Regions from separate parts of the Homo sapiens genome. Here regions 2, 3, 4, 5, 6 and 7 are each linked to region 1. Evidence: promoter capture Hi-C in 16 types of primary human blood cells and fetal thymus (Javierre and others, 2016). All regions are on one chromosome and are shown on one strand. Each heading gives the region's core, a stretch centred on a gene start or on the middle of the fragment in contact. The rest is flanking DNA. Distances are from core to core; before and after follow the strand shown.

Evidence for each region. The method cuts DNA at HindIII sites, captures the fragments that hold promoters and counts their contacts. A CHiCAGO score of 5 or more calls a contact.
Region 2: a fragment that was not itself captured here is called in contact with the fragment with the promoter of DUSP4 in region 1 in 1 of 17 cell types (M2 macrophages); the score reaches 5.2 in M2 macrophages.
Region 3: a fragment that was not itself captured here is called in contact with the fragment with the promoter of DUSP4 in region 1 in 2 of 17 cell types (M2 macrophages and M0 macrophages); the score reaches 5.7 in M2 macrophages.
Region 4: a fragment that was not itself captured here is called in contact with the fragment with the promoter of DUSP4 in region 1 in 2 of 17 cell types (naive CD4 T cells and total CD4 T cells); the score reaches 5.9 in naive CD4 T cells.
Region 5: a fragment that was not itself captured here is called in contact with the fragment with the promoter of DUSP4 in region 1 in 1 of 17 cell types (M1 macrophages); the score reaches 6.8 in M1 macrophages.
Region 6: a contact is called between a fragment that was not itself captured here and the fragment with the promoter of DUSP4 in region 1, in 11 of 17 cell types (activated CD4 T cells, M2 macrophages, naive CD4 T cells and 8 more). The highest score is 9.4, in activated CD4 T cells.
Region 7: a fragment that was not itself captured here is called in contact with the fragment with the promoter of DUSP4 in region 1 in 8 of 17 cell types (M2 macrophages, non-activated CD4 T cells, activated CD4 T cells and 5 more); the score reaches 8.8 in M2 macrophages.

The regions. Positions count from the first base shown.
Region 1 is chr8:29,348,576-29,352,683 of GRCh38, reverse strand. It overlaps DUSP4 (dual specificity phosphatase 4), which reads left to right and starts at 2,000. Exons shown (of 4, transcript NM_001394.7): 1 at 2,000-2,838. The coding sequence starts at 2,406. It overlaps LOC124901924 (a long non-coding RNA gene), which reads right to left and starts at 1,710. Exons shown (of 2, transcript XR_007060876.1): 1 at 1,150-1,710. RefSeq lists enhancers at 1,083-1,192, 1,233-1,302, 2,001-2,500, 2,823-2,972, 2,501-3,002 and silencers at 1,493-1,632, 1,823-2,142, 3,713-3,882. The HindIII fragment of the contact is 21,736 bases long and covers 1-4,108 here.
Region 2 is chr8:29,851,214-29,855,321 of GRCh38, reverse strand. No RefSeq gene overlaps it. Among named protein-coding and RNA genes, the nearest start is that of LINC02209, 68 kb to the left of the region's middle. RefSeq lists a silencer at 1,875-2,169. The HindIII fragment of the contact is 1,359 bases long and covers 982-2,340 here.
Region 3 is chr8:29,828,792-29,832,899 of GRCh38, reverse strand. No RefSeq gene overlaps it. Among named protein-coding and RNA genes, the nearest start is that of LINC02099, 83 kb to the right of the region's middle. The HindIII fragment of the contact is 5,163 bases long and covers 1-4,108 here.
Region 4 is chr8:29,806,355-29,810,462 of GRCh38, reverse strand. No RefSeq gene overlaps it. Among named protein-coding and RNA genes, the nearest start is that of LINC02099, 60 kb to the right of the region's middle. The HindIII fragment of the contact is 3,973 bases long and covers 180-4,108 here.
Region 5 is chr8:29,788,397-29,792,504 of GRCh38, reverse strand. It overlaps LINC02099 (long intergenic non-protein coding RNA 2099), which reads right to left. Exons shown (of 4, transcript NR_125815.1): 2 at 2,058-2,173; 3 at 624-1,410. Among named protein-coding and RNA genes, the nearest start is that of LINC02099, 42 kb to the right of the region's middle. The HindIII fragment of the contact is 1,023 bases long and covers 1,144-2,166 here.
Region 6 is chr8:29,701,271-29,705,378 of GRCh38, reverse strand. No RefSeq gene overlaps it. Among named protein-coding and RNA genes, the nearest start is that of LINC00589, 45 kb to the left of the region's middle. The HindIII fragment of the contact is 891 bases long and covers 1,539-2,429 here.
Region 7 is chr8:29,646,835-29,650,942 of GRCh38, reverse strand. No RefSeq gene overlaps it. Among named protein-coding and RNA genes, the nearest start is that of LINC02948, 87 kb to the right of the region's middle. The HindIII fragment of the contact is 1,406 bases long and covers 1,218-2,623 here.

The DNA of each region.
Region 1 (4,108 bases), core at 751-3,250:
GCCACGCCGTGCGGCTTTGACCACTGATCTCCCACCCGGAGTGCCCGACGCCCAGGGTCCTGCCACCGGGCAGCCTCGGTCAGTCCACAGTTGTGGCTCCTTCCAGGGCCTGGACTAGGGTGAGCACAAGCCTTGAGCGCAACATTTAAGAAGGGCGCCGAAAAGTCAGTAATCAAAAGAAATATCTTGATGCAATGCCTCTTTAAAAGAAAAAAAAATGCAAAAAATCCATGATGAATAAAATACTAAATTTTAAAAAGAGAAAGGATCCGTGCAGTGCCATCGTAAGCCATTTTGGAGCCCGGAGCAAAAGGAAATATCACCTTGCCCAAGCGGTGCCCCTACAGCTCATCCGAGTAGGGCCCGGGGGTCGAGGCATTCGGGGCCCAGTGGGGGACGAGGCCAGTCGAAGGTCTCGGAAGTGGAGGCTCCGCCGAGCTCCGGTCGGGGAGTGCAGGGATGGCCCCCGGGACCGGAGGTGAGAGCTCGGGAAAGCCGCTCCGCCCGGAACAAAGGCATGGGGAGAGGGTGAGCTTGGGCGGGAGAGACCCGGCGGGTACCGGTGCCCTCGCTGCCTGGGTCGGGCTTCCACGCGCGCCCCGGAATGGAATACGCTACTCTGCAGCCTCCGAAACTGCGAGCGAGTCCTGTAACTCCCTTGCTCTGTGATTAATTCTCACTAACAAGACTTGGCAAGATGTCGGGCGAATGATTTTTGGCTTCTGCACGGTCCCCACCGCGTGCGTGCACAAACCCCCAGCCAAAAGCCGCCTCTGGGAAATTAAATGCAAAAGAGAAATGGGGATGGGGAGGGCTGCTACGTGACCAGGAAAAAGGGATGCCCAGAAACATGAATCGGACCCAGAGCTGCTGAAGTCCTTTCAAAAGGTCATTCTTTGCGGGTACATTTTCCAGGGTCCAGCTCCGCAACAAATGTGGACCCTGTCATTTCCTGAAAGGATAATTCACAACTATGCAAGATAGGGTGAAGACGTTTCCCAAACCCGAAAACCTTGTTTTTCCCCCGACCAGGGTTAAATAAACATCTTTTAGGAAGCGTGGACAGGAGCGCAGCCTGCTCTCCTCCCTCGGAACACCATTCCGGCAATTAATGCCTCCCTTTGGGTAGTAAAGCAACAAACCCCACACCTCACTCCGATCCTGGGCTTCGGGCGGGAGGACTTTCTCTTTCATCTTCCAAGCAGGGGGTTGCCCACGTTCTTGGGGAAGCTATAAAACTGATTTAATGGCTTTAGATGAAAATCGATCACGCTAATGCATACGCTAACGTCTCAGGAATCGCATATTCAGAAAGGACTGGCCGGGCCGAAAGCGCACGGGGAGTCTGGGGCTAGGAGGTGTCAGGCCCCGCTGGGTGGGCAGCAGCGCTCCGGTCCCCTCTCCACTTGGGTAACCGGGAAAAACCTACGGGGCTGTCACGCGGGGAAGCGCGAAGGTGCCAAGGGATGAAAGCTCAAACCCGAGCCCTGGCCTCCTCAGCCGGCTATTTCCTTTGGCGCCGCCCGCCTAGCGGCGGGGTGCAGCGGCGGCACAGGTGCCGGTGTCGGGCTGGAGGCGCGGCGCAGGCTGGGCCCGCGGGTAGACGGCGAAAGGCGCCGCGCGCTCCATTCACAAAGTCCGGGCGCTGCCCGCCGCTGGCGGCGGGTCGGAGGCCGCCTCCCTCTTCCTCTCGGCCTCGGTTTTATGAATGGGCCTGATGGCGAGCACCCGGCGCCCTGTTTACTCCGCTCTTTGTGACGTCGAGTTCCCGTGACCGGGAGCCAGCGGCCGCGCTCCATTCAAGCTCCGGGGAGGGGGTGGGAGGAGGGGCCCGGAGGGGGCGGGGAGTCAGCGCGGGGGGCGGGGGACAGCGCGGGGGGCGGGGGACGGCGCGGGGCCCGGAATGGAACGGGGCGGGGCCTGGCGGGGTAGTACCTAGCGCCCCCTCCCCCGGGAGCGCGGAGGAGCATTAATAAACCTCTAAGCCGAGGAGAAAACTCTGGCTGGGGCAGTGCGCTGAGCGCCGGAGGAGCGTAGGCAGGGCAGCGCTGGCGCCAGTGGCGACAGGAGCCGCGCGACCGGCAAAAATACACGGGAGGCCGTCGCCGAAAAGAGTCCGCGGTCCTCTCTCGTAAACACACTCTCCTCCACCGGCGCCTCCCCCTCCGCTCTGCGCGCCGCCCGGCTGGGCGCCCGAGGCCGCTCCGACTGCTATGTGACCGCGAGGCTGCGGGAGGAAGGGGACAGGGAAGAAGAGGCTCTCCCGCGGGAGCCCTTGAGGACCAAGTTTGCGGCCACTTCTGCAGGCGTCCCTTCTTAGCTCTCGCCCGCCCCTTTCTGCAGCCTAGGCGGCCCGGGTTCTCTTCTCTTCCTCGCGCGCCCAGCCGCCTCGGTTCCCGGCGACCATGGTGACGATGGAGGAGCTGCGGGAGATGGACTGCAGTGTGCTCAAAAGGCTGATGAACCGGGACGAGAATGGCGGCGGCGCGGGCGGCAGCGGCAGCCACGGCACCCTGGGGCTGCCGAGCGGCGGCAAGTGCCTGCTGCTGGACTGCAGACCGTTCCTGGCGCACAGCGCGGGCTACATCCTAGGTTCGGTCAACGTGCGCTGTAACACCATCGTGCGGCGGCGGGCTAAGGGCTCCGTGAGCCTGGAGCAGATCCTGCCCGCCGAGGAGGAGGTACGCGCCCGCTTGCGCTCCGGCCTCTACTCGGCGGTCATCGTCTACGACGAGCGCAGCCCGCGCGCCGAGAGCCTCCGCGAGGACAGCACCGTGTCGCTGGTGGTGCAGGCGCTGCGCCGCAACGCCGAGCGCACCGACATCTGCCTGCTCAAAGGTAAACGAGGGCTCCGGGCGCTAGCTGGAGTCGGGGAGATGGAGGGGGTCTTGGCGGCCTGCGCCTTATTGGCACGGGAAGGAGTCCCCGGCGTGATTCGTGGTTGCGGGGATCCCCGCGCGCCCCTTTGTGTGTGTTGGTGTGTAGGGGTTTGCAAGGTTTCTGTGCAAGTGCGAGGTTCAAGTCCTCAGGGAAAGTGCGGACGGGTTTCTCCGGTCACCTGCAATTCCGCACCGTCCTAGCGAGGCCCCGTTTATTGACATTAACGGTCCTAGCCTCGAGGATGAAGCGACTCCTCTGCGCGGTCCATCTTGAGTCCCGGGAACAGTTTCCAAGTACCACGGGGCGCGTGGGGACAAGATAGGCCTGTTGGTTTGGCGTGCTGGGGCCCTACACTGAGCCGGACCGGGAGAATCCCAGAGGTGGAGAAAAGGTGAAGAGGGGTGGGCGCCGAGGTACAATTGGCCTTGCCAGTTTCACTGAAAACAAGACCCTGGCAAATGCAGAAAGGGAGATTGGGTTGCACACACTGTGTAGAGCGATCTGTATCTGCGTTCCCGCTGCCCAACTCCAAGCTCAGCTTGGAAGGTGGCCAATCCCCGTCCCGGGCTAGATCCAGGCTCTGGGAGCGGGAGGCTGAAGGACTGGGTATCTGGGGGACGCCGGGCGGAACCGGTCCTCTAGCGCCTGCAAATCCGGGCAGCGGAGAATGATCACCTTTTGTTCAGCCCGGATTTTCGACTATCTGATGGCGGCGCGTGCCGGATTTTAGCGAGCCCTGGCGAAACTCTCGGCGGCGAGACTGTCTTGTCACATTTGGTAGTCGGAAATCCTGGAAAAATCGCGTGCTGTCCGAGTCCCTGGAGGGACCTGGCGCCCGCCACACCTGCAGGGCAGGGTGGGTCCGCGGCCCTCGGGCTAGGGAGCGGGCAGGGCGCGTGGGGTCCGGGCGCCCCCCGCCGCGCTGCGCCTCCGCCTCCCGCCGCCGCATTCCGCGCATTCTTCCGCGCGGGTAGGGTCTGCGCTTCCGAGCCCGGTAGGCAGTTCAGACCCCCCCACACCCATCAAAGAGCCGCTCCTCCCCCCCGCAGGCGCCTTCGCCGCCTCCCTCCCTTCCTTTCCTTTCCGCTCCTCTTCCGACCTGTCCACCCGGGAGGAAGGGAGCTGGAAAGGGGGCGGAAACCTCTCCCCTCCAAAAAGCACAACAAAACTGTTCAGTGCGGAGGAGCCGGGTTCGCCCCTGCCGGACAGCGGGGGGCTTTGTTCCCCG
Region 2 (4,108 bases), core at 412-2,911, 500 kb before region 1:
CCTGCTTCCACTCATGGTGGAAGGTTGAGGGAGCTGGCATATGCAGAGATCACATAGAGAGAGTAAGCAAGAGAGAGATGGTGGGGAGGGGCCAGGCTCTTTTTAACAACCAGCTCTCACCGGAACTAATTGAGCGAGAACTCACTTATGACCATAGGACATCACCAAGCTATTCATGAGGAATCTGCTTCCATGACCCAAACACCCCCATCAGGCCTTACCTCCAACATTGGGGATCAGATTTCACTATGAGGTTTGGAGGCATCAAATACTCAAACCATAGCAAGTCTTTCTCTGGTTATGTGTGAAGATAAAACAGAAAACCTCTGTTCTTCTTTAGAATTGTTTTTTTTAAACCCACAAGAAGAAAAAGAGGAGCCAGGACCCTGAGAGCTGCAGTGATCTGAGAGGAGAGTGTTCAGGGACACTCAGATGTCCTGGGCAGGAGGAGCCTCAGAAAGGAGTCCTTGGATAGGATGCTCTGCAGTTTAAAGTGTAGAAGGATTGCACCAGGGACAAAGTCCAGGGGAGCCCAAATTCTGGGTTCTTCTGAGATTTCCCTTCTGGTGTGGTTTGGCTGTGTTTCCACCCAAATTTCATCTTGAATTGTACTTCCCATAATCCCCATGTGTCGTGGGAGGGTCCTGGTGGGAGGTCATTGAACCATGGGGGCAGTTACCCTCATGCTGTTCTCGTGATAGTGAGTGAGTTCTCACAAGATCTGATGGTTTTATAAAGGGCTTTTCCCCCTTTTGCTTGGCACTTCTTCCTGCCGTCAAAGGATATGTTTGCTTCCCCTTCTGCCATGATTGTAAGTTTCCTGAGGCCTCCTGAGCCATGCGGAACTGTGAGTCAATTAAACCTCTTTCCTTTATAAATCATCCAGTCTTGGGCAGTCCTTTATAGCAGCATGAGAACAGGCTAATACACCTTCCCTCAGTGGGGCAGAGCACACTGCACATTCTCCCTTTCCCCCAAGCTTCTTGCCTCCCCCCATGCCTATGCAAATAACAGTGACCACTCCCTCACCCTAGTCCATTTGAATTCCAAGAAAGAAGGGAAAGCACTGTTGATGAATTGTTCACCCTGTGTGAGGACATGTGATCTTGCCTTGTGATGACCCCAGAAAAGGATTATTTAAATAGATGAGGAAACTTCAGCTCAGAGAAATCCAGTGATTTGCCTGAGGTCGCGCGGAGAAATTGATCTGCTTCAGGATTGAAACTCTAGTCTGTCTGGCTTCAAAGTTTCTGTTCTGTCTGCTCTCACTGGCTGCCCTTGAGGCTTCAAAGGAAGTAGCCCCTAACTGGTGCTTACATACGGCAGTTCTTTACTTCTGGTCTCAACTTTTGTTATTTCTCATTTAAAAAGCAAGTGGTGATCATTTGTGTTTCATAAAAGTATGTTATTTAATTGTAATCCTGTATTTCATTGCAAAAGGGTGACTGGTGCACGGTGTGTGCTCACATTCATATTACGACAAGTGTGTAAAATCACTGTGGGTGGCTTCCCAGACATGGTGCCTTTGGGGTTATGTAGCTTGATGGAAGAGCACGCCTTGAAGATTCAACTCCATTACACATTTGCAAATCTCGTAACTAGGGAAACTCTAGCCTAGTTTTCTATCTCTTCGAAATTTTGTCATTGAGGGTAGGGCCAAGATCAAAACACACAATTTTGCATCAAGGATGAATAGTAGCACTGTAGAAACACTGCTGCCAAATAGAGATGTCAAGAATGATTTTCTTCAAACCCACTTTTCCACAACAGTGACGTGTTTCAAGGAAGTGAGTTATCTACCTGAGGGAAGGACAAAAATGTCTTTTCCTTCAGGCCCAGGAAGATCAGATGGCTGAGTCACACCGACAGACAGTCTGTCAAAGTGCAGGCCCTTAAGTGGTTTCACATTTTAATCTTCTCATTGGAATTTCAAAGGTTTAGTTCTTTCAGAACCTCAGCCTCCCTGCTCTTTAAGTTTGCGTCAGAGCAAAGGGAGGAGTTCTGCAATTAGGCGCAAGTAACACATCTGGAATTTGAATGGATAGGTCCTGATTCCAGCCTCCGAAAGGTTTGAGATGAGAACAAAGTAAGCCAATGAGGAGAGATCCCCCAGGGATGAGGTTATGCCCCTGCCATTAACATTTACCGAACTGGAGAAGAAAAAAAGCAATAGCAGCAGTAATGGTGACAGATTCCATGTTTGTTGAGGTGCCAGGCTGTGGCATATCCTGTATGTGAGTCACCTCAGTCCTTTCCTAAAACTCAACATTCAGGTGATATGGGACCTGAAGGGGTTAGGAGCAGCCCCCGGAGACAGACTGCTGGGCTCAAACCCAAGCTTGGAAGAAGAGGGTACGTAGGGTCACGTATGTGAAGCACTTATAGGGCGTCTGGTACATTCTAAGTCCTGTACAAGTATTGGTGCTTATTATCCTCCTTCCTGTTTCTGAGGCTGGTGGAGCCTTAATGACCTCTCCAGGTTGAGAACTGACAGGAACTTTCCCACAGGGTTCCATCTCTCCACCTACAGTTTCTCCTGGCCACAGGCAATTCTTCATTTTGAGGAAGTGACCAGAGAAGGAAGGTTCTGGGAAAATGACTTGATTTTTATTCAGTGGTCTCGGAGGAGGACATTTATTCTGCCTACTAAATATGACACGATTCTGAGCTAGTCTCTCCCAGGCCCTCAGGCTTTTCTGGCCTGAACAGCCCTTGCAGTTGCCCAGCAAGAGTTGAGCTGCCCACCTGAGCTCAGGCCCTTCTCTGGCTCACAGAAGCCAAAGTCTCTTAATTAATTCACTCATTTTCCCTGAGTCTCTTCAGGAACTCTGTGATGTTTAACTACATCATCAATAAGCTCCCTTGTAGCTCTAAAATGCTGTAATTCTAATACCAATTAATATTTGGATGAACTCTGGGACTCCATATAAATCACCAGCATTTTACTTCTGCTGGGACTCTGTCAAGCTCAGCAAAGTACTTGTCTCTGAGGTTCCTGCCTTATTGGTTAAGTGTGGGTGAGGCCTGGGGCTTGTGTGTTTGTCTGGTGGGGGCACCATTCTGATGAGTCCAGAGCAGAAGGATCCGTCTCTAGTGGATGCTGTTAATGGTCACAGACTTAACTTTTAACACTGCAGAGAAAGTGTTACAAACAGAACAGGGAGAGAGTGTGGACAGATTAGAGAGAACCCCGTCCAATTGATTCATGAATCACTCAGAGAGTTGTGGGCAGTCAGGCCATTTCCTATTTTAAGCATGAATTAATTTACACTTCTGACTAGTAATGAGAATGTTGAAGGCAAAAAAAGCCATAGCCTTTTACATCTGGATGTGAACTCGACTAAAAACAAACATGGTCTTACTGAAGAACCCCAGGATTTTTTGGATTGCATTTTGTTTAAGGGATAAGTAAAGATGAAACAGGCCTGGATGTTAGTGTAGCAGTGACAGTGACCTAGAGGCAGACATCAATGTGGTCACGGACTCCCTGCAACATCATGAAGGAAGTCTCTAGAAGAAATATTATCCAGAACTTGCCCTGTTCCTTTGAAATGCATACCTACCAAGACACAGGGTTAACCATGGGCTGTTGCTTTGTCAGATGTTATTTCCAAACTCTATGCCAAAATCCTTCTTGATAAATTGGATAGGACAAAATGTTATGGTTATTTATATGTTGTCTTGGCTTTTTTTTTCATTCCCAGCTAATTTTTAAATTATTTTAAAAGAGATAAGGTCTTGCTGTACTGCCAAGGCTGGTCTCAAACTCCTGGCCTCAAATAATCCTCCTGTCTCAGCCTCCTGAGTAGCTGATATTATAGGCATTATAGGCATGAGGCACTGTACTTAGCAAGTTTCTGCTTCTCAAAATGAGCAGATCCTGCAACTGGGATCTTTGTTATGTGAGTCTGGACAAGGAGTTATGTGAGTTTGTAGGATGCAATTGAAAAAAAGCGTGAGATAGGAGGCCCAGAGGAGGATTTTTGGAGCTGAAACACTGGAATCTTGAGGATGAGAGCTGCAAGAGAAAATGAGAGACCCCTTGATGAAAGGCTGGGGAGAAATCAAATATTACATGAAGATTCAGAGCATTCACTGTGGTATATGT
Region 3 (4,108 bases), core at 673-3,172, 480 kb before region 1:
GGGCTGCAGTAGTGTGTGCTTGAATTAGGCTGAAGTTCCTTGAAGTCTTGCTAGCATCTTAATGCATAAATAAATATCACAGCCCCCTAAATATGTAATATTATAGAACAGCGAAGAGGCTCCTTTGATGAAATTTTGTTCTTCAGAGGCTTATGGACTGGAGAGTAAAAACACACATGTATTAGCCATGTGTTTTTAATGCTCTGGCATCTGCTGACCCTGGAGAAACTGCCCCTGCTTGCTGGTCAATTCCTAGAGGTAGTGAAGGACTGGCCTGTGGCATGCATTTCATATGCAAACCAGCCAACCCAAAGACCACACCCCACCACCTCCTCTACAGGGCTTTCACACTTAGGGCAAAGATTCCCTTGCTTTAATCACCCAGGACCAGGTAACAGGCAACCAGAGACAGTTTGTATTCCCTAAAACCTGCTAAAGTTACTCAAATTAGCCGATTCTAAGCCTGCTTGCCTTGCCTTTCCCATTCCTTCCAGTGGAAACCACAATAAAGGGTGTTGCCTGCATTTTCCTCATCATTCCCTCTGCCTCCTGACTGACCCTGGTGCGTGACCAGTGGAAACCCCCACTCCTGGCACTTTATGCCGTCCCAGTCTTGGGAACTGTGAGTAACAAACTCTCATCAATGGCATTGCCTTCTCATCTGTTGACCTCACCATACCTGAATAATAAAACCTACATTTTAAAACAACATGCCCTCCATCAAACCCATGAAGGAAATGATATGAAAAAGAAATACATCTATAAACAGATATTCATTTAAATTGGGTATTTCAGCAATTTCAGAAAACTGTCCTAACTGGTTGCTATACAACAATTTTGTTTTTAGTTTTGTTTTGTTTTAAATGAGAATATTCATCAACTTTGACAAGCATGCATGCAAATAAATGAACATTTATATCTTGCCTGACTCACTTGTTGATGGGACTGTTGAGCTCACATACTACTGTGGTGGGCTGACTCCTATGACACTTTCTCTGAAACAGGTATCATCTGTCATGGTGTTATTTCATTAATAAGCAATGAAACACATAAATGTCTCTCTTGTTTGACATGGTACCACGACTGACCTACATTTATCACTCTGTGAAACTTATACCAAGATTGGAAATTCAGATAAAAGGGGAATATAGAAAAGTAGACATATAGAAGAGAGATTTTACAATGAATTTAGCTAAGCAATTGCTAAAATTCTGTGTATAGCCTGTGATTCCTTGTCTAAGCCAGCCTGGGATAAGCCCAAGATTACAATAATCACCAGCAAACAGGCTTTCTTTGACTTTGCTCACTCCTATTCTACCTGAAAGATTCCCTCAAGGTCCTACTCCATTTTTCTGGCATTTCATGAGGCTTGGAGGACCTAGTTACCCGTAGCATCTGCCATCTTCTCTGTCTTTGCTCTGCTTGGAGATTTCTCCTGCATCTGCTGTGAACTGCAAGGGTCCTACCTCTGGGGATCCTGACACCTGAGGATTTCATCCCATGTCAGTGTTAAAGTTGCTGCGAAAGTTGTTGGCAATAGTGATGCTGTTCCCTTGTACTCTTGAAGTCTGAGAGAGATGGTAGCATGAGAAAGATTTCACTTTGCTCATCCTCTTTTACTGTAGTTCCCTTCTCTTGAGGGCTGCCCAGGAAGACAATCTGTGGGACAGACACTGGGAATGCTGGATCATCTTTTCCTTCTGAGGCTGCTCCACTGTCCTTGAATCAAACTCTGGGGTCAAACTCTTTATTCCCTTGGATGAGTTGTTTCCAAGAGCTCATTTTTAGGTAATGTGGAAGTAAATGAAGATCAATCAAATGAAAACAAGCACAGACTATTTATTTAGAGCTTACTATATCAAGAGAAACAACCATCATCATTTGCTTTTGACAGAGACTCAAAGGCAGGCCACGGAGTGGGAAATCATTTATAGTGGATAAAAGGCAAGGCTTCAGGTGTGCCCTGATTGGAGGCTGTTAGCATGGAAAAGCTGTGGACAGGCCATCTCATAGTGTGACAATCTATATAATTGGTTAGGGGAGCATACTGGGCTCTCTGGTTGGTCCTGAGTTGGAAGTGGGGACAATTATTAGGGAAGCTGTCAGATATAAACCAAGTCTTGGCTGTTTGGGGCCAATTGTTACAGGGATTATTGTCTGGCTTCCTGGGATGGTTTCTAGAGATAGTGGTCTAATCTGTTACAATCTGACTTATAGATAGCAAGCTGTCTTCCTGGGCTGGTTATTGTAGATAATGGATTAGGTTTCTGGAATAGTTGCTGTAGACTGGGTTAGGGTTCTATTTTGATATATAGTCTGGCTGTTGTCTATTTGTATATTCAGTTTCTCAGCAAATTGACAGCCAGTGAGTCTATCATTCACTCTCCCTCTGCCTCCATATTAGGGCTCTCCAAGAAACAGAACCAATAGGAAATTGGTTCTGTTATATGTGTAGAAAGAGATTTATTATAAGGAATTGGATAACATGATTATGGAGGCTGGCAAGTCCAAATTCTGCTGGGTGCAGATATGGGAGAGCCAACATTCCAGTTCCAGTCTGAAAGCAGTCTACTATAGAATCAGGAAGAACTCATATTGCAGATGGAGTCTGAAGGCAGTCCGCTGGAAAATTCCCTCTTGCTTGGGGACACTAGTGTTTTTGTTCTATTCAGGCATTCAGCTGATTGGATGAGGACCACCCACAACTGCTTTACTCAAAGTCCACCAATTTAGATGGGAATCTCATCTAAAACACCCTCACAGAAACACCCACTGTAATGTTTGACCTGACATCTGGGCACCACGTGGCCCAGCAAGTTGATCCATAAAATTAACTATCACATCCCCAAACCCTCACTCATGAATCTCAAGGTGAGCCAGTGACTTTTACTTCCTCTCAAGTTGGACCCTTGCTCCATGGTTACACATCAAGGTGGTAGAAAGTCTCTATTCTCCTTAGCATCTCTAGAAGCTAATGCAGAGCCATCTCTGTGTTTATGGCAGGACTTGTGAGTAGAAATGCCTTCTGGAGCACCCTCATTCCAATTGGATGTGAGAAGAGGAAAACTCATTCAGGCATACAGAAGGACAAAGCTCTCAAATTGGAGGGGCTGTGGCATTCCACATGCCACCCCTTGAAAAGAGTTTTAGTATGGTCTTCCAAACCACTCTATTGCCTCATTTCATCTCTCCAGGAGGGTCTGGGCCCATCTTGACAGTAGCAAGGTAGGTGTTTGGAAACCTGTCAGGATCCCTCAGATTCCTTCAATAGGGGAGTCTCCCAGCACCCCGAGGGATCAAAGTGGTGAGCAAAATTGCACAGTTCTTTTCTATCCTGCTTCACTGGAACGGACAAGCAAAGGACTGAGAATCTTCAAGCAGGCAGGCAGCTAAGGTTGCAGGGTAGCATATTATCTACAACAAGATCATCTCATTTTAAATTCGTTCTTTGACTCTTTTACCAGGTTTTTTTTAATTTTTCTTGTCAGTAAAGCCCATAAAATGTAGAGTCTTATCAATAGTATTCAAAGCAGATTTAAAATGTAATTACCCTTTTCTCCCTGCTAGTACAACCCAGCCTGAATCATCTCATCTGATTTAAGAAATAATCTTGTTAAGCTGAAAAATGAAACTCTCCCAGTTTTTTCCTCCTCCCTTTGTCCCTTTTTTCATTTTTCCTTCCCTTTTCTATTTATTCACTCTGAGCTCTCTATCCAAAAGGCATTTGTTAAGCACTATGCCAATAATTGGTGGTATAAAGATGAATGAGAACCATCCTTGCTTTTGAGATGATCACTGTCTAGTGGGGGAGGTAGAAATAAAAACAAATCTTTATAAAGCATCATGGTAAAAATGGATTCAAACTAAATAGTTCTGGGGAAATTGAGGCAGGGATCTCAAGAAAGGTCACATTCTGCAGGTTCTTGAAAGATGAGTTGGAGTCTTCTAAGCATACACAGGGCTCTAGGTGGGGAAAGTGTCCAGGGAGTGAGACAATATGAGGATGATAAGAATAGGACTTCGAGGTGAATCCAAGACAATGTCTACCCGGGTCCATGCTGTTGGACTCCTTTATTGCATCCATTTCCTACACAATCAAGCGAGAATT
Region 4 (4,108 bases), core at 917-3,416, 460 kb before region 1:
CTTTTCTTTTAGACAGTGAGGTATAGTGGAAAATATGCTCATCGAAGAGACAGCAGCCTGGGGTTGTGATTCTGGGCCTATTAATACTCCATTGTGTAACCCTGAGTGAGTTCCCTTCACCTTTTTGGGTCTTGGCCGTCCAATCAAAAGGAGGGGGTTGGAGCAGATCTAGCTAAGCTTTGCTTCTGCCAGACATTCTGTTACTGTCTCCCCAGATGTGCTCAGTAGCATGCCAGTTATCATGGGAGACATGGAAAAGTAAACATGTGCTCTAGTTCTGGCCCTCAGAAAGTGCTCAGCACTGGGGACCAGGTGGAAACAGAGAAGTGTATCATTGTGCAACTCTTCAAGGGCTACAGGAGTTTCCAGCAGGAAAATTTAATTTGCTAGCTGGAACAAGAGGGAAGAGGCCATCCTGGCTCCACTGGAGAGTCTCATGTTGGGAACAGGGGTGGTAATGCTGAAAGGAAGGGAGAAGTCAGACTAACAATAAAGGCAAACAAGTTTGGACTTCATCAGCAATAAGGCACCAGTGTCAACATTTGACTAGTGGAGTTACAGCATGAGATAGACTCCTTAGAAAATGTGTCAGTTAGGAATGCATTTGGCTGCACCAACCACTGTGGTCTAAACACACCTGGGTAGATTTTTTTCTTGTCTATAACAAGACATCAGTAGGTGGCAGGTACTGGTGTTGGCTTAGCAGTCGGGGTTACTGTGACATTAGAATGCAGACATACTGGTGCCAGGGTTATTTCTGCAATTTCCTTAGCCTTTTACTCATGGTTGCAAGACAGCTGCTATGGTGCCTGCTCACATCTCTACGTAAGCCAAAAAGAGAAAAGATAGAAAAAAAAAAAAAAGAGTGACTGCGGGGGGGTTTTGCAGCAGTTAAGTCATTCCTTTTAAATCACAAAAAACTTTCAAAGAAGCCCCCAATCCCAGACCCCCTAAAACAAAACTAAATTTCTGACTTTGTCTTAAGGGCCATAGCTTGGCTACATGGCTATCTTTGATGCAAAGAGGATTTCCAGCCTCTTACAGAAGTCATTCCCAAGCCTGCTTTCCCTCACAGCCTCCTATTACACATCATGCATTGATTGAAAAAAAATTTTTTTTTGTGCTAGTTAACTGTGAGCATCTTAAGAAACTTCCCACCTTTGTGTCTGGAGCATTAGATGCAATGCTGGGTTCACAGTGATCCTTCATTCACGACTGTGGGTGTGAATGCAGTGAAGACAGCTCGGATGGGGAACTCCCTGCCTCTATTACTTCTCTTAAATAACCAAACGTCTGAAGTGTTGGCCAGAATGTGTGTTAATATTCTGGCCCTATTCCAGCATATTTCATAGCAGCCATTAAAGAATATATTCTTAGGTTTGCACTTATAAAACTTTATTGGCTTAATCCATTTATTATCATACATTTGCAGTTGAAGTCTTGAAGTGTAGCTTAGCTACATAGCTGCACCTACCCATTGGTACAAGCCACAGCATGCAAGTTGGTGAGCTTCTGGCAACAGTTTTTGTTTGTTTGTTTGTTTGTTTGTTGAGATGGAGTCTCGCTCTATCGCCCAGGCTGATACAATCAAGGCGAAACTGTAACTTTCGCCTCCTGGGTTCAAATGATTCTTATGCCTCAGCCTCCAGAGTAGCTGGGACTATAGGCATGCACCAATAAGCTCAGCTAATTTTTGTATTTTCGTAGAGGTGGAGTTTCACCATGCTGGCGAGGCTGGTCTCAAACTCCTGACCTCGGGTGATCTGCCCACCTCAGCCTCCTAAAATGCTGGCATTACAGACATGAGCCACCGTGCCTGGTGACTGGTGACAGATTTAATTACTTTACCAGCTCTGAACAACCTCTATCCATGGTAGATAACTGTAGTGGTTTTTGCTCTTTCCTGAATGACTATTAAAAAAAAATTTCTTAGTTTGATCAAATAATTTGCCTTGCTTCATCCATAATTCTGCTTCATCTCAATTGAGCTTATTTTATTAAAGGGCAGGAAGTCCTCTGAATTTCTATTTCTGGACAGGTTTCTGTGGGAGTCTTTTTAATGTTTTTCCTGCTGCCTTTTCTCCTTTATCTTTACAAGTTCCGGTTCTATAAAACCGGTCATTTTTACTGACCATTACTGCAGGCTGAATTTTTCCCTATAAACCCTAATTTTGTAATCTGGGAGCAATATACATTGCTAATGTGATTTTTGTTCCCTTCTCTCCTTCTGAGTCTGGAAGAGTAGCCTTTCTTTTGTAGATTTATGGTGAGGTCTTGTACTCAGCGCTCTCACAATGCAGATGAGTTTTCTGACTATAATGGACCATTTTACAGCCTTATGGTTTGCCTATTTCTCAATGAATTTAATATTTTCTTCAATTTGTGAGCTAAATGTTAACTCCTGGGTTTTTTTTATTGATCCAGTACTATTATAAAATGCATGTTTCTTTATGTCTAGAGCCTATGACTGCAATTACTGCGTGTGAAGATTATGTACAGATTCTAATATGCATATTAATCTCACTATGCTATGGAACTGGTCCTTGCAGAGTTGTGCCTCATGAAGGGACACTGTAACCTCAAATGCTTTCTAAATGGATGGCCCCAAAACAGCAATGTCTCCCCTACACATACCCTCCCCTACTGGTGGCTGTCTTTATGGTAGAAGGGGAAGACAGCAAACATCCTACAGTTGTAGATTTTGGAAGTGGAGCATGAAAAAAATAAAACTGACCCTTGTGAGATTCATTTGTTTACAGAACAGGATTTTGTGGTCCAAACCATGCCTCTGGATGCCCTGGGGGCGGCAGTAAATGGAAGCCTCTGGCTGGAGGGAGAAGCGTAGCTGCCCAGCTACTCACATATTCATATATTCTCTCTCGCTTGAGGCTGAATATATTTCTACCTAGCAAGGAAGCCGTGCTGACACACAGCCCCAGCACAGAATTCCACATTCCTTTGTGTTCAGGGAACAATGATTTAGGTTAGCTGGGATTAACCCACAGTTGAACCTCGGCGAGATGGGTTCCGAGTCTCTCAATGAATTCAGCAGTCACTGACAGCTTCGTGAATGGGATTCGCTGCCTGATGCATGAGCTGAGTTGTCACAGGCAGGGCGGGGAAGGCAGGCTGGAAAATCCCCATGCCTGGCTGCCTCCCGATGTGTCCCCCAAGATTGCGCTCTGGGGGTTTCTGTGAAGGGGAGCCCTCCTATTGCCAGCCTGCTCAGACCACACAGGCACGCACAGCCCTGCCTCACGGAAGCATCTGACAATTTTTAAAAAGTCCTTTCTGCAGAGAGCCCAGAGCCTGCATGTTTTAACCCCCAAGTGGTAGCAGGCTTGTTTTGATAGTTGGAGCCAGACATTTATATCTGTATAAAATAATACTGGACGATGAGGAATATGCATGAGATCATGAAAATAAGCAGTAAAGGCAGATTTTGATAGCCTCTCTCTAGAATTGTTAAGCCTTTCTTTTTTTTTCTTTTGAAAAGGGGATAGAAGAGCTGCACATCTAATATAATCAGTCCTTTTTGGAGAAATGTGTGAATGGGCTACTGTCAGTCCAAACAGGCGTCATTTAGTGTCCATCCATCTTATTTCTCTCACTAACATGTCAGTCTCCCTTGTCTTCCACTCACATCATTCAAGGTGAAAAACACTGAATAGGTTCTTGTTGTTCTTTGTATTTTTTTCATTGTTCTAGGGCTGTGCTGATGCCGACACATCAAGTCTATGATTTGGAGGAGAAAGGAGGTAAGGAGGAGAGAACCAACATGCATTGAGCACCTGTGATGTGCTAGGCTTCATACCCATCATCTTATTTAATCTGCCCACATTTAAGATGTGGTGATGTCATCCCCACTTCCTGACTGAAGACACCACAGTTGAGACAGCTCCAGAAAGGGTTCCCACGTCTTGCAGAGGTTAGAGACAGAGGTTAGAGTCTGCCTCAACACACCCCTGAAAACCCCATGTGGCCTAAAAAGCAAAGCATTTAAAGTAGTATTCATAGTGATCTATTTCATTTGTATATGCTGACTTACATATGTCAATTGCTGTATCTTAGACAATGACATTTTATTTCAGTAGTTTATAAGCCTCAT
Region 5 (4,108 bases), core at 406-2,905, 440 kb before region 1:
ACTAACCTCTGGCAACCACTGACTATAATAAAGACATCCCAGATACTTGCAGATTTCCTGATCTCGGGTGTTCTATGGGAGTTATGGAGGCCTGTGACCACACTTTGTCGTAAGAAGCTCATGGGAGGGTGGAGTTTTCCTTGCCCAAGAGTGATGCTGGCAGTAGAGGGTAATGGTGCCCATGGGAGCTGTGATCTCAGGAAGATTGGGGGCTGCAGAGAAAATGGTGGGAGACCAGGATGGAGAGGACCAGAGTTTCCTGAGCTCTGATGTCATATAGCTGGGAAGCTCAGAGAGCTGGGGGACACTTGGGGTGGGTGAGTGTCTCAGAGCAATATCTAGTAAGAGCTGACCCAGTTTATGAAAAGTTAATCAATTGCACCAAAACCATTTTTTAAGCAATCCTATCTTTCCTTACCATCTTTCAAATTTATTAAATTCTTACATACATCAAGACTTACTTCTAACTTGTCTATTCTCTTCAGTTGAACTGTCAGTTTCAGTGCCAGTCCCATGCTGTTTTACATATTATAACTTTATAATATATTTTAATGCCTGATGAGGCTAATGCTAGTATCTCCTCATTACTTTTATTTTGCCAAAATATTTGTCAGTATACTTACCCATTTATTTTTTTCAGATGAACTTCAGATCTCCTTTGTTACATTTCAAAAGAATATCTCTTGATATCTTAGTTATGATTGGGGAAGAACTGGCATCTTCCTTTGTACAAACCCCTGGACTATATGAATGAAATGAAGATGAGTAATCTGCCAGGAAGATTTGGAGATCAAATCCTAGACTTCTAACTCTTGGAAGTCTATGTGACAAGGAAGGTAAACAAATGGAAAACTTTAGTAGGAATATTTTTCTCCTCACTCTTTTTCTTACATGTCACTGATCTCTAAGACTTCATGACTTGCCTTTTCTTGATGCTTCCCGCACAGCTGTTTTCTTTTTCCTCACCACCAGCCCCCGAGCACGCACAGTGGAGGAATGAGAGAAGCTTACATAAAAATAACTCTTGTTAATTAAAAAATATCACTGAGTTCCATTATGCAAGTGAGGGATGCCACACTTAATTTGTCATGGTTTGCAGCACTAGGTCCCCCAGACTGATACCTTTCTTTGAAAGAAGAAGCTTGTCATCAAGCTGGTGGGTCTCTCAGGTCTGTTGTGGTTGTGATTCCAGATGTCAAGTCTCATCCCATTGTTGGTGGAAGTCTGGGATGCGGCCCTGCCTTCCAGCTGCTCTGGCTGTTGTTCTGTTATGGAAAATGGAAGCTGTGCTCCTGTGTTGGAAGATGGGAATTATCACTGGCGCATCTGTCAGCCTCCAGCTCTTTGATGGGGATTTTGCACCTTTCGCTTTTGCATTGTTTCACATTATGCATTTTGTAGGTCACTCCCCTGCAAGGCAGAGGGAAAAGGCCATTATTGGAGTACTTTTTTTTTTTTTTTTTAAGATTTACACTTTTTGCTTTTATTACAAAGTATTGTGAAATTTTCTGCTCCAACAGTCGTGAGAGTAGGAAATTTAAGTCTATCACTTCAGTAATATTTTGGCTCTTAGTTTAGGGTTCATCCTTTCCCTAGGGACTGCACTGAGATAAGTTAGATTGAGTGAAAGGTAAAGACTAACACTTTGAACTGATGTCATTTCCATTGTGAAGAACTAACTGCTAAGAGCAAGTTAACAGGCAGCAGTTTTGAGAGACAGAAAAGTCATCCAGACAGGAAGATTGGGAACTTCCTCAATGAGTTTGTCTTCCTCATTTATTACACTCAGTTTGTCAACAATCTTGTTAATTATACGTTTTAAAGGCAATTTTTTCACAAGCTCTAGGACACATTCAAAATATTACATACAAGTGTATGTTATAAATAATCCTCAAGTAAACATACATGTAACTACCACCATCTGGACATTTCACATCAAGTTATAAAACGCTTTCATCATCTGGACGACTTCTTGCTTCCCCTCCCGCCCCCCTCTCTCGGCTGTTTCCCCTCCTCCAGCCCCTAAGGACTGGTGTCTTTTATTTCCCCAGACTTACTCAAAGCCTTGACTTGGTTTTATGCTTTGCTCTTTATTGCACAGATCTGAACAAGGACGGCAGCTGGGGTGACATTTCATTTATCCAGAGATGCAAGGGTGCTGAAGCTTGACATCCTTATTTGCCATCATGAAAAGCATTTGAAAGGGGGAAAGAAGAAAATTGATTGCAGAAAACCTTAGATTGATGAGCATGAGTAAGGGCTGCAGGGGGCACTGGAAAATTCAGGTGCTGTCTCTTTTCTATGAATTCTGTCTTTCCTCCCTGATCTCGAAGACTCTTCAGTAAATAGAACACATCCACTTTACATACTAAGTGACAGAAAAACAATTTTCCATGACATGAGGACCTCCAGTCTATATTTTATTTCTTGTGGTAAAATATACATAACATTTACCATTTTAAACACTTTTAAGTGTACAATTCAATGACATTGAGTACATTTACATTTTTGTGCAAACGTCATAGTCATCTATCTCCAGAACTTTTAATCATCCCAAACAGAAACTCTGCACCTATTGAACATTAACCCCCATTCCTTCCTCCCTCCAGCCCCTGGTAATCTCTATTCGACCCTCTGTCTATATGGATTCGCCCGTTCTAGGTACCTCATGTAAGTAGATTCATATAATATTTGTCCTTTTATATCTGGCTTATTTCACTTAGCATAATGTTTGTGGTTCATTCATGTAGTAGCATGTGTCAGAACTTTATTCCTTTTTAGGCTTGAATAATATTCCATTCTATGTATATACCATATTCTGTTTATTCAGTCATCTGTTGGTGGACATCTGAGTTGTTTCCACATTTTGGCTATGGTGAATAATACTGCTGTGAATATTGGCGTCTGTTTGATTCTCTCTCTTCATTTCTTTTGGATATATACCTACGAGTGAAACTGCTGGATCATATAGTAATTCTGTTTAATTTTTTGGGGAACTACCAAAGTGTTTTCACAGTGACTGCACCATTTTACCTTCCCATCAGAAATGTACAAAGCTTCCAATGTCTTTACATCCTTACCAATATGTTTTTTTTTTAAATTTTTTGTTTTTTGGTAATGGCAATCCTATAAGTGTGAAATCGTATCTTGTTGTGGTTTTGATTTGCATGTCCCTAGTGGCTAGTGACATTGCACATCTTTTGGTACTTATTAGCCATTTGTATATCTTCTTTGGAGGAATATCTATTCAGAGCCTTTGACCAGGTTTGAACTGGGCTGCTCATTTGTTTTAATTATAGGACCTCTTTATATATTCTAGATATTAATTCCTTACCAGATAAAGTTATTTGCAAATACTTTCTCCCATTCTTTGGGTTGCCTTTTCACTCTCTTGCAAGGGTCCTTTAGGGCACAAAGTCTTCAATTTCAGTGAAGTTCAGTTTATCTATTTTTTCTTTTGTTGCTTGTGCTTTTGGTGTCATATCCAAGAAATCATTGACAAATGCAATGTTATAAAGCTCTTGCCCTATGTTTTCTTCTAGGAGCTTTATAGTTTTATGTCTTTATTCCATTTGAATTGATTTGTACATATAGTATAAGGTAAGGTAAGATAAGGTAAGGACCCAGTTGGTTCTTTAGCAGGTAGATATCCAGTTTTCTCAGCACCATTCATTGAAGATGCTGTCCATTCCCCATTGATGGTCTTGGCACCATTACTGAAAATCAATCAACATTATACGTAAGGATTTTCATTCTACTGACCACAAGCTGGTTCAGAGAAATTGGTCTCAGATAGTGCTAAAAAAAAGTTATTACTGAACCACAGCAACAAGTACATTTTCTTGGGTAAATACTATTGTTTTTCAGTCTACATAATACTTTGAATTAGAATATCTTGAACATGCTTTTATCCATTTGTTATTGATGTCTACTTGTTTATGATGCTATCATTTTTCTAAATATGACAGTCTCAATCGTTTCTCGTCCTGCAAGGTGAACAGTGATTTCTTCACTAAATAGTCCTGAAATTCTCAGAGGATCACTTAGAGGGGGATACGGTTTTTGGAATGCTGTGACCTTGGTCTGTGGAGAAGGAGGCGCCTAGGAG
Region 6 (4,108 bases), core at 735-3,234, 350 kb before region 1:
TTTTTAGTAGAGATGGGGTTTCACCATGTTAGCCAGGATGGTCTCGATCTCCTGACCTCGTGATCCACCCACCTTGGCCTCCTAAAGTGCTGGGATTACAGGCGTGAGCCACTGCGCCTGGCCCCTACCATCTTATTCCTGCAAAAATGGTCACAATTTAAAAATTAAAAAATGATAGCTATTGATGTGGATGTGATGAAAAGAGAACACTTTTACACTGCTGGTGGGAATGTAAACTAGTACAACCACTAAGGAAAACAATACGGAGAATCCTTAAATCCTACTACTAGGTATCTACCCAGAGGAAAATAAGTCATTATACGAAAAAGACAGCTGCACATGCATGTCTATAGCGCACGATTACCAATTGCAAAAATATGGAACCAACCAATGCACATCAACTAATAAGTGGATAAAGAAAATGTGGTATATGTACACCATGAAGTACTACTCAGCCATAAAACGGAATGAAATAATGGCCTTTGCAGCAACTTGGATGGAGCTAGAGGCCATTATTCTAAGTGAAGTAACTCAGGAATGGAAACCCAAATATTACATTTTCTTACTTACAAGTAGGAGCTAAGCCATGAGGATGCAAAGGCATAAGAATGTTGTAATGGACTTTGGGAACTCAGGGAGAAAAGTGGGAGGGGGGTGGGGGATAAAAGACTACACATTGGATATGGTGTACACTGCTCAGGTGATGGGTGCCCCCTTATCTTAGAAATCACTACTGAAGAACTTATCCATGTAACCAAAAACTACCTGCACCCTGAAAACTATTGAAATAAAAATGAATAAATAAAAATAAAAGAGGCCTGAGAGAGCTGCCTTGCCCTTTTGCCATGTGAGGACACATACAAGGCACCATCTGTGAGGAGTGGGTCCTCACCAGACACTGAATCTGCTAGTGCCTTGATCTTGGACTTCTCAGCCTCCAGAACTGTAAGCAATACATTTCTGTTCTTTATAAATTACCCAGTTTAAGGTATTTTGATATAGCAGCCTGAATAAACTAAGACAATTGGAGAATCTCAAATGTCAGAGTCTTTCAGTCTCTTTTTATGGGGTTAGTCAGCTTCCTTAGAGAAGCTCTTACAACTTGATATGGTTTGGGTCTGTGTCCCTGCCCAAATCTTATGTCAAACTGTAATCCCCCGTGTTGGAGGAGGGGCCTGGTGAGAGGTGACTTGATCATGGGAGCAGATTTCCCCCTTGCTTTTCTCATGATAGTGACTAAGTTCTCATGAGATCTGGTTGTTTAAAAGTGTGTAGCACCTCTCCCCTCTCTGTCTTCCACCTTCTCAAGCCATATGAAGTGTCAGCTTCCCCTTCACCTTCCACAATGAGTGAAGCTGAGCAGATGCTGCTATGCTTCCTTTACAGCCTGCAGAACCATGAGCCAATTAAGTGTCTTTTCTTTATAAACTACCCAGCATCAGTGTTTCTTTATAGTAATGCAAGAACAGATTAACACACAGCCTCATCCCTGGAGGTTAAGAGTCTCGGCAGGGGCTGTCAATTTTAGTATTTAAGCTTTGATTAATCTCCCTATTTTATTAAGTTACCCATGCCTTCACCTGTAGCTGATAACCCTAGTTCATAGGCTTCTTGTGACCTACCTCTTCACAGAATAAACAGCTGGTCTTCTGCCAGAGGTAGAGGACTTTTATTCACCTTTAGAGAATGAGAAATGATCTAAACGTCTAAGTGCCATATAAGTCCATTCTCGCACTGCTATAAAGAACTACGTGAGACTGGGTAATTTATGAAGAAAAGAGGTTTAATTGACTCATAGTTCCACAGGCTGTACAGGAGGCATGGCTGGGGAGACCTCAGGAAACTTAAAATCATGGTGGAAGGTGAAGGGGAAGCAAGCACATCTTCACATGGCCAGTGATTGAGAGAGAGAGAGAGAGCAAAGAGGGAAGTACTACACACTTTCAAACAACCAGACCTCATGAGAACTCACTCGCTATTACAAGAACAGCAAGGGGAAAGTCTGCCCCCATGATTCAATCACTTCCTACCAGGCTCCTCCTCCAACACATGGAGATTATGATTCAACATGAGATTTGGTTTTAGAAACAGAGCCAAACTATACCATTCTGCCTCTGGCCCCTCCCAAATCTCACATCCTTTTCACATTTCAAAACAAAATCATACCTTCCCAACAGTCCCCCAAAGTCTTAACTCATTCCAGCATTAACTCAAAAGTCCAAGTCTAAAGTCTCACCAGAGACAAGGCAAGTCCCTTCCATCTATGGGTCTGTAAAATCAAAGACAAGTTAGTTATTGCCAAGATACAAGGGGGGTACAGGTATTGGGTAAATGCTCTGGTTCCAAAAGGAAGAAATTGGCCAAAACAAAGGGACTACAGCCCTATGCAAGTCCAAAATACAGCAGGGCAGTCGTTAAACCTTAAAGCTTCAAAACCTCCTTTGACTCCATGTCTCACATCTGGGCCATGCTGATGCAAAGACTGAACCCTCAAGGCTTTGGGCAGCTCTTCCCCTGTGGCTTTGCAGGGTACATCCCCTGTGGCTGCTTTCATAAGCTGGCGGTGAGTGCATGCAACTTTTCCAGGTGCATGGTGCAAGGTGTTGGGTGGATCTACAATTCTGGGGTCTGGAGGACAGTGGCCCTCTTCTCAGAGCTCCAATAGGCACTGCCCCAGTGGGGACTCTGTGTGGGGGCTGCAGCCCCACATTTTCCCTCTGCACATTTTCCCTCTGTGCTGCCTTAGTAGAGGTTCTCCATGAGGGCTCTGCTCCTGCAGCAGACTTCTGCCTGGATATCAGGCATTTCGATACATCCTCTGAAATCTAGGTGGAGGCTCCCAAACCTCAACTCTCACACTCTGTGCACCTGTAGGCTTAACACCACATGGAAACTGCCAAGGCTTGGGTCTTGCACGCTCTGAAGCACCCTCTGAAGAAATGGCTTGAGCTGTACCTTGGCCACTTTTAGCCACTGCTGGAGCTAGAGTGACAGGGATGTAGCGTGCCATGTTCTGAAGCTGCACAGAACTGTGAGGCCCTAGGCCTAGACCATGAAACCATTTTTTTTTCCTTCTAGGTCTCCAGGTCTATGATGTGAGGGGCTGCTGCAAAGGTCTCTGAAATGCCTCTGAGGCATTTTTGCCATTGTCTTGGCTATTAACATTTGGTCCCTGTTTGCTTATGCAAATTTCTGCAGCTGGCTTGAGCTTGAATTCTTCCCCAGAAAATGGATTTTTCTTTTCTACCACATGGTCAGGCTGCAAATTTTCCAAACTTTTATGTTCTTCTTCTCTTTTAAATGTAAGTTCCAGTTTTAGATTATCTCTTTGCTTATGCAGATGAGCATAGGCTTTTAGAAGCAGCCAGATCACACCTTGAACACTTTGCTGCTTAGAAATTTCTTTTGCCAGATACCCTAAATCATCTTTCTCAAGTTCAAAGTTCAATAGATCCCTAAAGCAGGGGCACAATGCTGCCAGTCTCTTTGCTAAAGCATGGCAAGTGATTTTTACTCCACCACAGCCTGGACATCATTGTCCATATCACTATCAGCATTTTGGTCACAACAATTTAGCCAGTCTTTAGGAAGTTCCAAACTTTCCCTCATCTTCCTGTCTTCTTCTGAGTCCTCCAAACTGTTTAAACCTCTGCCCATTACCCAGTTCCAAAGTCACTTCCACATTTTCAGGTATCTTTAAAGCAATGCCCCACTTCTCTGGTGCCAATTTTCTGTATTAGTCCATTCTCACATTGCTCTAAAGAACTTTCTGAGACTGGGTAATTTATGAGGAAAGGAGGTTTAATAGACTCACAGTTCTGCAGACTGTACAGGAGGCATGGCTGGGGATGCCTCAGGAAACTTAAAATCATAGCAGAAGGTGAAGGGCAAGCAAGCAAATCTTCACATGGCCAGCGAGAGAGAGAGAGAGTGAAAGGGGAAGTGCTACACACTTTCAAATAACCAGGTCTCATGAGAACTCACTCACTATCATGAGAACAGCAAGGGGGAAGTCTGCCCCCATGATTCAATCACCTCCCACCAGGCTCCTTCTCCAATAGGTGGGGATTACATTTTGACATGAGATTTGGGTGGGGACACAGAACCA
Region 7 (4,108 bases), core at 671-3,170, 300 kb before region 1:
AACCCCTGGATGTTCTGATATATTTAAGAAGAAATAAGAGATAGGAAGATAAATCAGAAGTCCAAAACCCTAGAGTTCTAAGGCCTGCTCTTTCATTAACTAACTATATGACTGGTGGCAACTCATGCTCCATGCCTCAGTTTACCCATATTTAAAATAAAAGATTTGGGCTGGATCATTTTTGGTAAATGCTCAAACTTTAAAATATTATAAGCCAATAATGGAACAAAACTAAGTTTCTTCTGATAAATGTGTTTCTTTCTCCTGGGCTCCTTCTTCTGTCCTGTAAAAACTGCCCTGACCACCTCCTTTCAAAAGAGTATTTCCTGTGCTGTGGTGAAACCTCTGTCTTCTTTTCCAAGGCCACATGCTTCTGCCCACACTAACTTCCCAAGCACTTTCAGGCATCAGTTCATTTTCCTCATATCACCTACCACAACTTGTCATTATATATTTATAGATTTGTTTGTTTTATAGAGACTGTTTCTCCTATGAGATTGCAAGTTCCATGAGAACAGCTACTATGCCTGCTTTGTTTACCAACGCATATTCACTGTCCAGCATTGTGTGTGGAACATAAAAGGCTCTTGGTTAATGCCTGCTGAATAAATGAATCTGTCATCTTCCCTTTTTTGATCATTATCATAGGTATCATTTGTTAAGGGCTTACTAGGGATCAGACATTGAGCTGATGCTTTGCATGTATTACCTCATGAACACATCACAACAACCTCACCTGGCAGGTTGCATCTGTTTTGCAGATGAAGTCACTGAGGATCCAAGAGGTCATGGAGCAAATGCACTCTAGAACCTGGATCCAAACCACAGCTGACTCACTCAGAGTCTAAGTACTGAGCCCTTGCAAAGTACTACCTTGGGTCCTCAGTGACTCTGAGCATTAGGTCGGACATGTAGTAGGTTCTCAGGATATGTGTACTGAATTGAGTCTCTGTGTGATGGAGCTAACAGATGGTAAATGGAGGTCAGTATTTATGACCCATGGGGCTGATAATCTGAAGCTTCAATGCCTGAGGTGGATTCTGAAATCTGGAGCAAGGATTGGTAGAGTAGAAAATCTCTTTCTAACAATGAGATTCATTCTTGTGTGCGTGGAGAGTTTAACAGAGCTCCTTTCTTCCACCGTATGAGGGTGTGACTTCAAATTTTTCTTGAAATGCACATTTTTAATTAGAAGATTTTATGTGGGTTGCCAAGCTTCTGAGAACTAAAAGGACACTTGTGCCTCGGGGACACTTACAGAGACTGGTCCCTCGGTAAGTGCATAATAAAAAATACACAGAGAGCAACTGAAATTAAACCCACAGGGAACCCATTGCACTTGGTTTCAAATACCTAAAGACTTGACAGCTACAGAATAAAGAGAAAGAACAGAAACAAAAGTCAATGCCAATTTGCTTAATTTGGGGTTCTTTTTCCTGAGAGTATCTTTCTGAGAATCTAGAGTTGGCAGAAATGTTGGAGACTGTCAGGTCTAAGACCCCCTCCTGCAGATGGGAGACTGAGGCCCGAAGAAGTTGTGGCAAGGTCAAAGCAAGGTCAAACCAAGTGAGCTATGGGTCAGAAAGAAGAGAAGGCATCACTGTGTGCTACAGCAGGGCCCTAGGAGAAATTTGCTGGTGGTGAGGAAGATGGGGATTGGTGGGGATTGCAAGAGTAGGGGGTGGGGCGGACAGCTCTCTAGCAATATGGCTTCTGCTCTGTTCAAAGCGAAATTAGAAATTGTTCAAACAGAAAATGAGTATGTCAAGAAAATCACATGTCAAGGAATATAGAGTCACTTATTAGTGTTTGTCTCCAGAACATAATCTAACGGACTGTAGGAGAAATCCCAGATTCTCTTGGGCTCCTTTGCTGCCTCAAGCTCTCTTATACTTGAATCCCCCACCCTTAGACACATTGCTGTCCCTTAAACTTGAGAGTAGCGCCAATAAATCTCCAAATAGCCTGGACTGAACTGGAATCAGAATAATATTAATGCACTTAAGGAAAGAATGGGTCATTGAAAAGGTGAGGGGTAGTATCTTAGAATATATAATTCAAAGGGGAGAATAGCCTGGTACATTCAGCACTGCCCAGGTGAAAGGAATACAGTATGTGAAGGACGCTAGTAGCTCTAATCACCAGAGGTATAGGGTAGGATGTAGAAGTATTTCACAGGGAATTTTAATAAAATGTTTCTCCAAGCTGGATCTGATTCCATGGTTGCAAGTAATCTTCATAAACTTCAATGACCAGGCCAGGTGTGGTGGCTCACACTGGTAATCCTAGTATTTTGGAAGGCCAAAGTGGGAGGATCACTTGAGGTAAGGAGTTGAAGACCAGCCTCGGCAACATAGAGAGAGCTCATCTCTACAAAAATTTTTTTTTAATTAGCCAGGTGTGATGGTACGTGCCCATAGTCCTAGCTACTAAAGAGACTGAGGCAGGAGGACCCCCTCAAGCCCAGAAGTGAGCTACAGTGAGTTATGATCGTGCCACTGCACTCCAGCCTGGGTGACAGAGCGAGACCTTGTCACTAAAACATTTAAAAAACAAAACACAACAAAACTTCAACAATTGATGACCTGGTGTGTGTTATTTTTAAAATCTTGATTTTAAAGCTTGATTCTAGGAATGGGGTATGAGCATGTACACAGGACTGCTGAGAGCTGGTTTGAGCACAGTGAAGAAATGAGACTTGGAGCCCCATCAAAGGCAGACAGCTAGAAATCTTCACAGGGGATTTATGCTCAAGTCCAAGTCTCCTTTCCACCCTGGCAGCTCCAGCAGCCTGTCCTTAGCTTCCACTTCCTGTGTAGTTCATCAGCTCTGGATGGACATGAGTGGTCCTGTCACTGGGGAAAGAGATCATTCTTGCTATAAATACATGGATGGTGTGGCTTCAGTGTCCACCTCTGTGAAGTGAGTTGTTGAAACGATATCTTAGGAAGTCTATGAACCTGTGATATGGTTTGGCTGTGCCCCCACCCAAACCCCATCTTGAATTCCCACGTGTGGTGGGAGGGACTCAGTGGGAGGTAATTGAATCATGGGGGCAAGTCTTTCCTGTGCCGTTTTCATGACAGCGAATAAGTCTCACAAGATCTGATGGTTTTAAAAAGAAGAATTCCCCTGCACAAGCTCCCTCTCGTTGCCTGCTGCCATCCATGTAAGATGTGACTTGCTCTTCCTTGCATCCACCATGATTGTGAGGCTTTCCCAGTCACGTGGAACTGTAAGTCCAGTTAAACCTCTTTCTTTTGTAAATTGCCCAGTCTCGGGTATGTCAGCAGTGTGAAAACAACGGACTAATACAACCCAATAGGGGAGGATCTGATCCCAAAGCCTGATCATGCTCTGAGGCAACAAGCCCCACTTTGGAGACACCTTAGCAGGCAGCCATTCTTCACCAGGTGGCCCCATTCTCCATCGCCCAAGCACCGTCTTCTCAATGCTGCCCCCTGCTGATAGGCGTCTCTCACTCTGCAGTGCTGGGGTCCATGGCTGGCCATGACAGCAGGGTTTACCTGCCCTTGCCACTTGTTTTCACCTGACTGTGGTTAAGCCTCTTTACGTCCCTGAGTTTCTGTTGTTTCATATACACAGGAAAAATGCTGCTTCAGAACCTTTCTCACAGCCCAAATGAGAGCATGTCTAGGAAAAGGTTTTAAAAGCATCCATCGTTTTACAGATGTGATAGGCTGGTAACAACTCCATCAACACACATTTCTAAAGATGCTCCATGTACACTCATCAGTGTAATGCAAATCCCATGAAGATCCCCCTCTCCAGCCATTTCCCTTGAAACAGACACCTTGGACACCTGTCCAAGACAGGTGGCCAGATGCCAAGAGATCTGAGGGTGACCTTATTTTGTCCACCTTAGTGTTTTATTACAAAAAAAGAAAAGTCTTGATTTACTTCCATTAAGAAACCAAGTCTTATCTCCTAAACATAAGTCCATTTCTTCCTTGTTCTTTTTGGAATACCGAAAATGACCATGAAGAATCTAATTCACAAAACATCATGCACTTGAAGACGATCCTAATGGTACCTTTCAGTTTGCTCATCAGTAGACAAATTAAAATTATCTCGATTCCTATATATC